Regions from separate parts of the Homo sapiens genome. Here region 2 is linked to region 1. Evidence: promoter capture Hi-C in human tissues and cell types (Jung and others, 2019). All regions are on one chromosome and are shown on one strand. Each heading gives the region's core, a stretch centred on a gene start or on the middle of the fragment in contact. The rest is flanking DNA. Distances are from core to core; before and after follow the strand shown.

Region 1 (5,968 bases), core at 1,413-3,912:
GTACAGAAGTGCCAGGTGTGTTAACTCTTGCAATTCAACATCTACCAAGTATTTACTATCAGATACCAGTAATTACACTAAGCACTGGGAATAAAGAAAATATGAGAGGCCTTGTGCTCAAAGTTGAGTGTAAGATACACAAGAAGACAAAAATTATAACACATAATTTAATACACAGTAATAGCATAGGTACAAAATCCTACGGGAAACCGGAGGAGAAGGTAATTGATTCTGATCATTAAGAAAAGGTTTCAGGCTGGGCATGATGGCTCATGCCTGTAATCCCAGCACTATGTGAGACCCAGGCGGGAGGATCACTTGAGGCCAGAAGATCAAGATCAGCCAGGGCAACATAGTGTGACCGCATCTCTCCCAAAAAAAAAAAAAAAAAAAAAAGAACGAAAAAAATGTTTAAAAAAAGGAAAAGGTTATATATGAGCTGGAATAAAAACACTCTACAAGCAGAGAAGGCAGAGTTTCTAAATAGAATCTCACATAAGCAACGGTAGAATAGCTTGGAGATGAGGGAAATAGGGACAGTTCAGACGTAACTGGAGCACAGGGTGATGGCAACTGAAAAAGACGCTTGAAGGGTAGGCTTTCTATGAGACTGTGCAAGGCCACAGAATTTTGATTTTTATCCTAAAAGCCATGTGGAAATGTGACAAGTCTCTTGAAAAGCTTTTTAAGAAAGGGATGCCATCAGATCTATGTTTTACAAAATCCAGTATGGCAGAAGAGTGAACAATAGGATGCCTAAGAGAGGCCAATTAAATGGTAACTGCAATAGTCCAGCTAAGAAAAAAGAACCTCTATGGTTCAAGTTAATGTTTGAAAAAAAGAAAAAGAAAAAAGAACCCAAACTAGAGCCTTAGCAAAGGAAAGGATAGGAGGGAATGGATTCAAGAGGCACAGAGAGGGCAAAACTGGCCACCAATTCAATTGGAGACTGAAGCAAAGAGAGGACTTGAAGTTACTGGCTTAGGTAACAGGTGGCTGGAAATGCCATTTAAGGGAGACAGAAAATACAGGTTGAAAAACAGGTTTTAGTAAGGAGCACAGGAAGGTCAATTTTTAGCCCTGACATGTTTGAAAATATAAGAGTTATTCAAACGAATCAATACTTACTAAATATTAGGAGATATGAAGTGTATTTTTGAACAGTTCTTGTCAGCAACAACCATCCCTTCAGTTGCTCTTGTATCTGCTCCAAGAACTATGCCATCCTATTAAAAAAAAAAGTTTTTAAACAATTTTACAAATATAAGCCAACCGCAACTCTCTATTCTACTTTAGGGAATACTATGTTGGCCATACCACATGCTCCCCTAATCTCAAAACGCCAGCCAAAACTCATAGCAAAAATATTGTGCTACACTTTCAGGATTTAAGAAAAGGTTTCTTAGTAAATGCTACTAATTGAATCCTGAGTAGGTAAGAATTATTCCCATTTTCAAGTGAGGCTCAGGTGTCGGGTAAATTCCTTGTAAATCAGAGCTAATCTGGAAAAAACCTGGATTAAGACTCAGGAATCTTTCCATTAAATTAGCCATCACTATCAATTTCCTTTTAAAACATGTTGCTTTTCTTTAAAACATGTTGCACAGGTAATCATTATCCCTTTTGACGTTTCCAACAATTTAAGGCAGGAGTTATCTCCATTTGATGCATCTGAAGGTGTCCCTGTGAGAAGGAAAGTGAGCTGCCAGAAGTTGGAATCAGCACTATAGAGTTCAAAGGTGAGACAGACCTGTCTGACCCCAAATCTCGTGATCTCCCATCACATACTTCAGCTTCCTAAACTAGTAATTAAGAAGCTAACTGACCTGTTTAAAAAAAAAAAAAAGAAAGAAAGAAAAAACCTCAGCAAAGTGAGGAAAGAACATAAACTGTTAAGAAGCACACAAAACCTGACAAAAGCAGTCGCTCCTGAAAGACGGTCTCCTGATGTATTCTATAGCATTTGCCTTTCCAGACCGAGCCGGGAGAGACACCGGAAGCCAAGTGTTCTGATTCCTGTTGCCGGTTCAGTCACTGCTGCTCTTAGCCTAACCCGGCTTACCTTATAGACCACCCCAGCGATGGTCGTGCCAGTTTTCCGGACCTTTGGAAGCTTGTATCCCCTCTTTGCAAAATCGGCTTCCAAGACGGCATTCCTAAGAGCAAATGAGAGAATCAAGTGTTGAAGGGCAGGACCACATCGCACAGCACTGGCATGAAAAGTGCCTAACAGAGAACTCAGGAAAGCTGCTACTTGTTTTCACGCCCATCTGTTTAATGAATCCTCCCACCATCAGCACTGTTCTCCCGTTTTCCAACGAAGACAGTCTTACAAAGGGGCCGTGACGTGCCTTAGGAGACGGAGATAAACGGTGGCCGAGTGCGCTGGGAAGGTGGGAGAGCAGACCCGGCTTCAGGAGAAACCCACGCCCAGGCCCTGATTCCCCTGAGTCACACTAGCCGCGGGCCACAGGCCCCGCCATGAATTCTTCCCTCAGAATTCTCGTATCACACCTTGGCCCAGCTCCCACCCGAGCACCGCACTCTTCTCCCTCCCTGAACCAAGCCCCAAGCAAGGCGGCACCTGCGGCAGTTATCAAAAGAGAAGCCTCCAACTGGTGGAGCATACACCGACACAGCCGCCATCTTCCCAAGAAAGCAGTTCCGGGTCGGAGGCGGGTGCAAACAAAAAGAGCCGAGCACTTCCGGCGTCGCTGGCAACGGGGGCTGAAGGGGCGGGGCAAACGCCGCACTAGAACGATTGATCTTAGAGATTCTGGTTCCTAGAGAGGCCAGAGATGTTTGAAGTATATCGCCCCAAGTGGCACGGAGGAGAAAGTGACACCCGGAACCGGGAAAGGACTTGTCCAAGGTGAACGCACCAGCGACCAGGTCTCCTGCCGCTCAGACTGGACTTGTTTCTACCGTTAATTTGGTTCTGCGGTGCTTCAGAGACAGACAGACCCAAGTCCCAGGCACAGCCCCACCACCCCCTTGCGTTAAGCAAGTCTCTTCAACTCTCTGAATCTGTTTCCTCCGCTATCAGATGGAGATTACAACCTAGCTCAAAAGGCTGCTGTAGAATGGCCATTAAGTCTGTGAAAAGAGGCTCAACATGATTAGTCATAGGGTGAATGCAAAGCACGACCACAGTGAGATCCCACTTCGCACCCGCTAGGATGGCCATAAACAAAAAGACAGAAAAGCGCAAGGGTTGCGAGAGTGTGGAGAAATTGGAACCCGAATACACGGCTGGTGAGAATGCAAAACGGTGCGGCTGCTCCGGAAAACAATTTGGCAGTTCCCCAAAAAGTATTATCCTCTTAGATACGCACCCGAGAGGGTTGAAGACATGTATTCACAAAAACTTCTACAAAGGTGAGGTAGAAGGCAGGCCTCCATTCAGAGATGGGGCTGAGATACCTGACCAAATTGAGGACTAGCTAAAACAGGGCCTGGACGGAAGCTGTCTTCCCTAAGACTCGCTCACCAGCCAGCCAAGTCAGTTTACCGTTGCCATGGCAACACTCGTGAGTTACCGCCCCTTTCCATGGCAGTGGCACCATAAACCAAAAGTTACTACCCCTTCCCTAGAAATGCCTGCATAAACCACCCCTTAATCTGCATGTAATTAAAAGTGTGTATAAATATGACAGCAAAACTGCCCTGACACTCTGCCTAAGAGGGTAACCCTGCTCTGCAGGAGCAGTCATGGAGCTGTAACGCCGCCACTTCAATAAAGCCGTTTTCTTCTGCCTCTAACTTGCCCTTGAATTCTTTCTTGGGCAAAGCCAAGAACCCTTGTGGGCTCAGCCGCACTTTGGGGCTTACCTGCCCTGCGTCAAAAGGGGTCTCATTGGCTGGGCGCGGTGTCTCACGCCTGTAATCCCAGCACTTTGGGAGGCCGAGGTGGGCGGATCATGAGGTCAGGAGATTGAGACCATCCTGGCTAACACGGTGAAACTCCGTCTTTACTAAAAATACAAAAACTTAGCCAGACGTGGTGGTGGGCACCTGTAGTCCCAGCTAGTCAGGAGGCCGAGGCAGGAGAATAGCTCGAACCAGGGAGGCAGAAGTTGCAGTGAGCTGAGATCACGCCACTGCACTCCAGCCTGGGCAACAGAGCAGAGACTCCGTCTCAAAAAAAAAAGCGAGGGGGGGGTCTCATTATTCACAATAGCCAAATAATGGAAACAAATGTCCATCCACTGATGAATGGATAAACAAAATATGGTAAATTCATTTAATGGAATATTATTAGACCATAAAGAAGTCTGAAGCACAGATACATGTTACAACAGGGATGGACCTTAAAAATATACTGAGGGAAAGAAGCCAGGCACAAAAGGCCACATAGTGTATCATTCCATGTATGTGAAGTGTTCTTAATAGGCAAATCCACAGACAGAAAGTAGATGTTTGGTTGCTAAGGGTTAGGGGAGGAGGAGAGAATGGATAGGACTGTTTAGTGGGCGCAGAGTTTTTGGAAAATGATGAAAATATTCTGGAATTACATAGTGGTATTGGTTGCACGATATTATGAATACACTAAAAACCACTGAGTTGCACACTTTAAAATGGTTAAAATGGTGACTTCTACGTTAGGTGAATTTTATTTTATTTTATTTTATTTTATTTATTTATTTATTTTTTTGAGACTCGGTCTCCCTCTATCACCCAGGCTGGAGTGCAGTGGCATGATCTCAGCTCACTGCAACCTCCACCTCCTGGGTTCAAGTGATTCTCATGCCTCAGCCTCCCAAGTAGCTGGGATTACAGGCATATGCCACCACGCCTGACTAATTTTTGTATTTTTAGTAGAGACAGGGTTTCACCATGTTGGCCAGGCTGGTCTCGAACTCCAGACCTCAAGTGATCTGCCCACCTCAGCCTCCCAAAGTGCTGGGATTACAGGCATGAGCCACAATGCCTTGCCAGTGAATTTCATTTTAATAAGGCTATTGTGAGTATTAAACATTGTACATGAAGACCATCTATCTTAGCATGTAGAAGCTTCTTATAAATAGTTATTATTAATAATACATTCATTTCATCCTGTCAACAAACCTAAGAGATAATTATGTAATTCAACTCATTTTACTGAGGGAATTGAAGGCTCCTTTTACAGCCTGAATGACTGTGGAATGAATTAATTTATTCACTCAACAAATATTTATTGAGCTCCCATTATGCGTCAGACATGGTTCTAGGTGCAAATGAATGAATGAAGCACCTAGAACCAGTGTCTATCACAACTGTGTGTTTAATAAACATTTGTCAAAGGTTGAATTCCCTTTCGTTACCTCTGAGTTTTCCGTTGAAATTAGGGAAATAAATTCATATTCTGCAGTTCTAGCCCCTAGTAACTCAGTAGCTGACCTTACTTGGAAGTATTCCAAATGAATTGAATTTGATTTGATATTACAGAGGTAATCAAGTTAAAAATGAGGTCACTAGGCCCTAATCCAACAGGACTGGCGTCCTTATAAAAATTGGAAATTTGGGTCGGGCATGGTGTCTCACACCTGTAATCCCAACACTTTGGGAGGCCAAGGCAGGTGGATCACTTGAGATCAGGCGTTCAAGACCAGCCTAGCCAACATGGTGAAACCACGTCTCTACTAAAAATACAAAAATTAGCTGGGCATTGTGGTGGGCGCCTGTAATCCCAGCTACTCAAGAGGCTGAGGCAGGGGAATCACTCGAACCTGGGAGGAGGAGGTTGCAGTGAGCCAAAATCATGCCACTGCACTCCAACCTGGGCAACAGAGAAAGACTCTGTCTAAAAAAAAAAAAAAAAATTGGCAATTTGGAGACAGACATGCACACAGGGAGAACCCCATATGAAGATGAAGGTAGACACTGGAGTGATGATCCTATGGGCCAAGGAATGCCAAAAGTTGCCATCAAACCACCAGAAGCTAGGCGCCAGGTCTGGAACAGTCTGCCTCACGGCTCTCAGAAGAAG
Region 2 (5,968 bases), core at 1,617-4,116, 100 kb after region 1:
TTGGGAGAGTCTTTTCACCTCACTCAACTGTAGTTTCTTCACTTATAAAACAGAATAATCCTTGAAGTTCAATATGGTGCCTGGCACACAAGTTGGGCACTTCAGTCAGTGCTGGTTCATTGATTCAGGCAGTTCCGAGACACCACCTTCTGCCAGAGCCTCAGCAACAGAATTGAGGTGGGTGTCAGCTATGAGCAAGAGACACAGGTCTGAAGGCACAAGCCGGCGCCTCAGGACACGCCATCATCCCTCCCCAGAACCCCAGACAAGCTTCACAGACAGATGCCATGTGCAGAAGGATTCACATTTATTGGTTCAAATACAGTACCTAACACTTGCTAAACATGCATTTCACACTAATTGGTCACATTTCCACAGGTAGTCAATTCACAGAACAGGGCCCATCCCTTGCCAGCTGGCAGGGTGGGAGGTAGCAGAGGGCCTGGGTAGCCTGCAGAGCCCGCCAGCTATCATTTGGTCATGGAGGGTTGATGGAGTCAGGCTGGCGGGCAGCCCTTGGCCGGCCCTTTGGAGACAAGGGCTCAGGGACATCCCGTTTCCTCGATTCCTACACACAGGACTGTGGGTGGAGGTGGACCTAGGGCAGGTAACCTGGGGGTAGGCTCGTGGATGTGTGTGCCACTAGAGCCCTTAAAGGTGGTGTCTGTGGGAGTGGTGCTCCCTATGCCCTGGAGCACAGGAAGGAAATGGAGGCCTCTTCAGGGGGGTGACTAGTCCCTGGCTGGGTAGGTGGGAAGGAATCCCCAGACACAGCCCAGACATCACAATGCAGCCACCAGCCCCTATGGCAGACCTGGGATGGCAACACAGACAAAAACACCAACACCCCAGGGCAGGCGGGGCTTCTTTCCCGACAGAAACATGTAAACAGAGCAGGAGCTACAGTATTCTTTTCCCACAGGATTCCTCAGAGAGGAATCGACCAGGATGTCGCTTAAGAGGTAGTTTTTTTTTTCTTTTTCATGGAAATTTGAATCAACAACATTATCACCTATTACAAGACATTTTAGAGAAAGAAAACAATGGTCATTAAAGGGCAAAGACGGCAGGGCTAGATCTGGGGGACTAGCCTCCACCCATAACACAACTTTTGTTCTTGGGCTTGGAGCAGGCTCTGACCTTACTCACCGCCTCCCTTTGAGCCTACAGTTGATTCCTGTGCAGGCTGTGGTCCATTTAGGGCTTCAGGCCCAGAAGACGGATGCTAGATGGGAACTGGGCTAGACAGAGGGACCAGGCTTCTATGAGCGGGGAGAGGCAGGGCCACCGTGGCTCGTGTCGTAGGACAGCTAGAAGCCTTCAAGTCTCATGGTGGCCCAGGTCTGGCCAAAGCAGAAGCCCCAGCTTGCTCCAGACTTGGCAGGCTCTCTGGAGTTCCCGCCTTGGAGGAAACAGTTCAGGTATGGCTCCCAAGCCCAGAAAAAATGTTGCTGTGGCAGCCTAGAGAGGAGTTTCTGGGGATCCTGTAATTAAATACACATCCCTGAGCTGTGGCCCCAGAAACCCTTGTCTCCAGGCTAACCAGTTTCCAACACTTGGTGGAATGACTGCCGTTTCTCATCCTGACACACAGATAAAACATCATTTCACAGATACTGGACATAGATGCTTCAAGCCAAGGAGAAAGGGAGGATGATCAGTTGCAAAGGCAGAGGGGAGTGCAAGGGAACTCTCATGGGCTGGGGTAGGGGGAGGCAGGGGAGTAAGAGTAGCGGATTTTTTTGTTAAATTTTGTTTGTTTTTTGGGTTTTTTTTTTTTTTACTTTAAAAAAATCAATTAAAAATTCAAAGCTTAATAAAAGGGCTGGTCTGAAAGACTGGATTCTTAAAATAATTGCAAAAATTTCAAAAGCAACAAGGAAAAAAGATACACACCAGGGGCCCAGAGAGGAGGGCCTGGAACCACAGCTCAGCTTTCTGTCCTGCTGAGAGGCCAGGGTTCCCTTAATTCGACCAACCTTGGACATGGCTTAGATGCTGCCCACAGTGGGTTTGTCTGTCTCCATCAGTCCCATTCCCCCAGGAAATCAAGAACAAACAAACAAATGTAGGAAATGGGTAACAGAGCAATGCACCTAGCTCAGAGCCCAGGATTTTAAGGATCTGGTAACAGTGACCATGGCAGGTACTCACCTCCCTGAAAAAGGGTGGCAGGTGAGAGGCAGGTTGATGTGGAGTGGGTGACATTCAGTGATGCCACAGAAACCCTTAGGATTCCCCATTCCTTGCTCTGGTTCTGGGAAACAGGACAGGGAGGATCCTGCTTACTTCCTCCTATCCCTGGGGGCTTGCCCACCTCTCTTGTGAGTGGGGCATAGGGGCTGGGTGTCCTCTGAGCCAGGTTGAGCGCTTTGAGACAGATTCTGGGGAATTTCTCCAGATTAACGACGAGACCACCAAACCTTGCAAAGGACTCCAAAAGTCTACAAAGGCAGCCAGAGAGCATGAATAAGTTCCAAGATGCCAAACTTTTGTCTTGGGACAAGAAAACATCAAAAAGGAGAGGGAGGGAAAGGCTTGCATGTTTCAATGTAGTGCAAGGAGGTGGGATTCTCCTTTTCCATGTAGCTTTCAGAGTCGTATTTTTATGGCATAAAAATTCTCACTCGGCTGGGTGCAGTGGCTCACGCCTGTAATCCCAGCACTTTGGGAGGCCGAGGCAGGCGGATCACGAGGTCAGGAGATGGAGACCATCCTGGCTAACGTGGTGAAACAATGTTTCTACTAAAAATACAAAAAAAGTTAGCCGGGTGTGGTGGCGGGCGCCTGTAGTCCCAGCTACTCAGGAGGCTGAGGCAGGAGAATGGCATGAACCCGGGAGGCGGAGCTTGCAGTGAGCCAAGATCGCACCACTGCACTCCAGCCTGAGCGACAGAGCGAGACTCCGCCTCAAAAAAAAAAAAAAAAAAAAAAAAAAAAATCCTCACTCAAAGTGAGTGCTTTTGGTGGTTGGGGATCAGAGAGAGGGCAGAAAGAGAAATTAGAGAAAACATGCACAACTTTTCTCTCCTTCCACTCGCAAAAAGGCTACCTGTTAACCAAACATTATGGGGAAGAAAGCAAAAAACAAACACACCAAACCTCCCCTCCAACCTTTCTCCGTGTCCTTCAAACCAAATTCACAAATACATCTAGTGGCTGACCTAATGTCTCCACGCTGCTAGCTACACTCCTACCTTCTCCTCATAATACCTGAGTTTGCAATGCAACACATTCACTTTACCCTGTTTAAAAAAAGCCCACGTCATAAAAGGACTGGTGCAGAAGACATTAAAGACGGTCCACAGGTCAGGCTCCGGCTCGGAACACACAGCCACTTTGCTCTGAGATTCTGCAGGGCTCTCGGCAATGAATGGGCTCTTTGTTCTGTGGAATCTGCTGCAAACATTTGTAAAACTGGATTTGTACAATGGCAACTTGCAGAACCTTTCCCCTACTCCACAAATTAACAACTTGCTCTGTTCAATACTACGTTGTTGGAGAGACATGTTCTTGCCTCATCAGAGAGCAATTTCTTTTGACACCCAACACAACGGGTAAAATGTTTAATTTGAAAAGCAATTTCAAAAATAATAATTGGACAGATAGAGGCCTCAGCAAAGAACGATGCTGTACACAGGAGCTGTCTTAGAGAAGGCATCTGTGATATGTGTCTCCTTCCCGATCTGGAGGAAAGCAGCTCAGAGTCTGACCTGTGGCCAAAGAATGTGATCTAGTTGGTTAAATAAAATTCAGGGGAACAAGTATCGTGAACTTAGAAATAAACAGATACACACGAACACACAAGAATCTTCCCACTGACGTGAAAAACATGCTAGCTGGAGCTTTTCCTGAGGAACATGTCTCTTCCTTCTCAGAGCAACTGGGGAAACGGCATTGAGGAGTAATGTTCCGAGTTTTAGATCCATCAAGGGCCAAAATCATCACTCTGCTGGTACCCGTAACATTTCACCAGAAAGAAACAATTACAATCAGACATGGACTACCCAGTATGCACACGACGTGGTGCCCTCCTGGGTAGCTTTACTAGGTTGAGTTGAGGAGACAGCAAACAGCCTTTGACTAAATAGGCAGAAGAAGGTGCCGTGGGCCCTTCCAACCTACCCAGGCATGCAGCCAACTAAGTGGTCTGCTTGCCACACTGGCTGTGAAAGATACCTGGGTGTAGGCAGGACAAGCACCTGAAAGAGTTCAAAGACAGACCTGGTGTAGCGCTGGCCAAAGTCAAGAGGGTAAGGAACACGTCCTGGGATAAGGTGGGGCAGGTAGTGAGAGGTCAAGGAGTCCAGGCCATGTCTGCAGAGGTAGCAGCCGGGCCATTAGGAACCTGAGGTAGTTTAAAGCCCCCCTTCCCTTCCAGGTGCTTCTGGCTCCAGCCCTCCAGGCCTTGGCTGGCCAGTCCACTGCTGAAGTAAGGGGCAGCTGAGCCACTCTGGGCCTTGGGCTTTGTGTCCTGGGTCCCTGAGGAAAACTGGTCTCACTCTGGAGAGAAAAGGAGAACTTGGAGAAGAACTTAGGGGCAACATTTCTGGTCAGCAGACAGGTGAATGGTCCTTCTCATTGTTTAAAAAAGCCTGAAGTTTTCGGATTTAGACCTGAGGGTGCGGTAGGAAGGGGAGGGGAGAGGAACAGATTTCAAAAGGGGAGTGTCTATTCTTTTTGCAGTCTGGCCTTGCCCTACTACCCTTTGAAGAAAACAAGGTGAAAGGAGAATAAATCAGTAGTGGGCACCAGGCTTCAGAACATGGCATTCTGCTCAGCTGGTTTTTCAAAGGGCCAATAGGAAGTCAAATGTGTAAGGGAGTGGGAAGGAGGAAGGTGGGCCTCAGGAGATCCAGGTAAGGAAACTAGGTAGCTGGGGGCCCCGAGGGAGCTGGGAGGCGAGTCCTGTGGATCAAGTGATTGCCAGGACTTTGCCTAGATGGAAAGTTCGCAGTGGTAGACAATGATGGTGGTGCAGGGGTAAGGGGGGCAGCAAGGTGTGAGAACAGAAATTCTTCTGCCCTTAGGACTTGTTGGGTGGAAGGACACCTGCCTTAAATATGGTCACTGTGCCCTACTCTCTTAATTTTCACGCTTTCCAAGGAAAGGACGTGGCTCAATCCTCACCTCCTACCCTGTTGCCGTCTCACCAACCTTGCTTAGTGAATCTCCTAACAACACTTTGCCCCCTTACAGTGTGCCGTTTTATCTGGCAATTCTGTGGCTAAAAAAGGCAATTTGCTCTCTGACAGACAAATGTATGAGTCTGCTGAGAAAATGTGGAAAAAGTAGGGATGGCCACACCCCCCATTTCCATTGAGGTAGTCATCTTTGTCAACATTATGGAAATAGTCATCTTAGCCCCATCCCACCCTCTCCCTCAAAATACAAAAGAACTATTTCTAAACAATGACAACACTGTAACATTAAACATCTTCACATTCTGTAAACTGTAAGAAAATGCATTGGCTGCATTCACACAAAAGCATGTGCATCATGTTGAAGGCCATACATTCAACTCTGTCGTGAAATAAATATATAGAAAAATGAGGTTAAAAAAACAGACAAACAAACAAAAACTCTTCTTGCTATGGAGGCAACGGGAAATGCTGCTCCACAGCCTCCATCTTGGTCTCTCTGGCTTTTCCCTCCAGAGCCTGTCCTGCCCACCCAAGACGCTGTGGTTGGCCTGAGGAGGGCGCCTGGAACAGGTCATTCCTTGCCCACACTGGTCTTGCAGGAATGCAGCACCACCTTAAAGAGGAGGGGCAGCTGCTCCAGGGGCACATTCACCATCTTTCCTGGGAACAAGGGGGGAGAAGAAGAGTTAGCAGTGGTCACTCTAGTGGACAGGCAAGTCAGCCTCCTTGGGCTGGTGGAGGCAGAGTATCACCTTGCTGAGTGACTGGGGCAAGAGAAGTGCCAGGAGTATCACAAAGGTTGGACACACTGGGCTAACATCCTA

The links. The method cuts DNA at HindIII sites, captures the fragments that hold promoters and counts their contacts. A contact is called where the count stands out against the background at its distance.
Region 2: a fragment that was not itself captured here is called in contact with the fragment with the promoter of PSMB7 in region 1 in 2 of the 25 tissues and cell types used here (IMR-90 fibroblasts and hippocampus).

The regions. Positions count from the first base shown.
Region 1 is chr9:124,412,780-124,418,747 of GRCh38, forward strand. It overlaps PSMB7 (proteasome 20S subunit beta 7), which reads right to left and starts at 2,663. Exons shown (of 8, transcript NM_002799.4): 1 at 2,585-2,663; 2 at 2,063-2,156; 3 at 1,129-1,226. The coding sequence starts at 2,646. RefSeq lists enhancers at 1-61, 2,570-2,619. The HindIII fragment of the contact is 5,075 bases long and covers 1,398-5,968 here.
Region 2 is chr9:124,516,990-124,522,957 of GRCh38, forward strand. NR6A1 (nuclear receptor subfamily 6 group A member 1) reads right to left here. Exons shown (of 10, transcript NM_033334.4): 10 at 286-5,804. The coding sequence ends at 5,716. Among named protein-coding and RNA genes, the nearest start is that of NR5A1, 13 kb to the left of the region's middle. The HindIII fragment of the contact is 3,650 bases long and covers 1,042-4,691 here.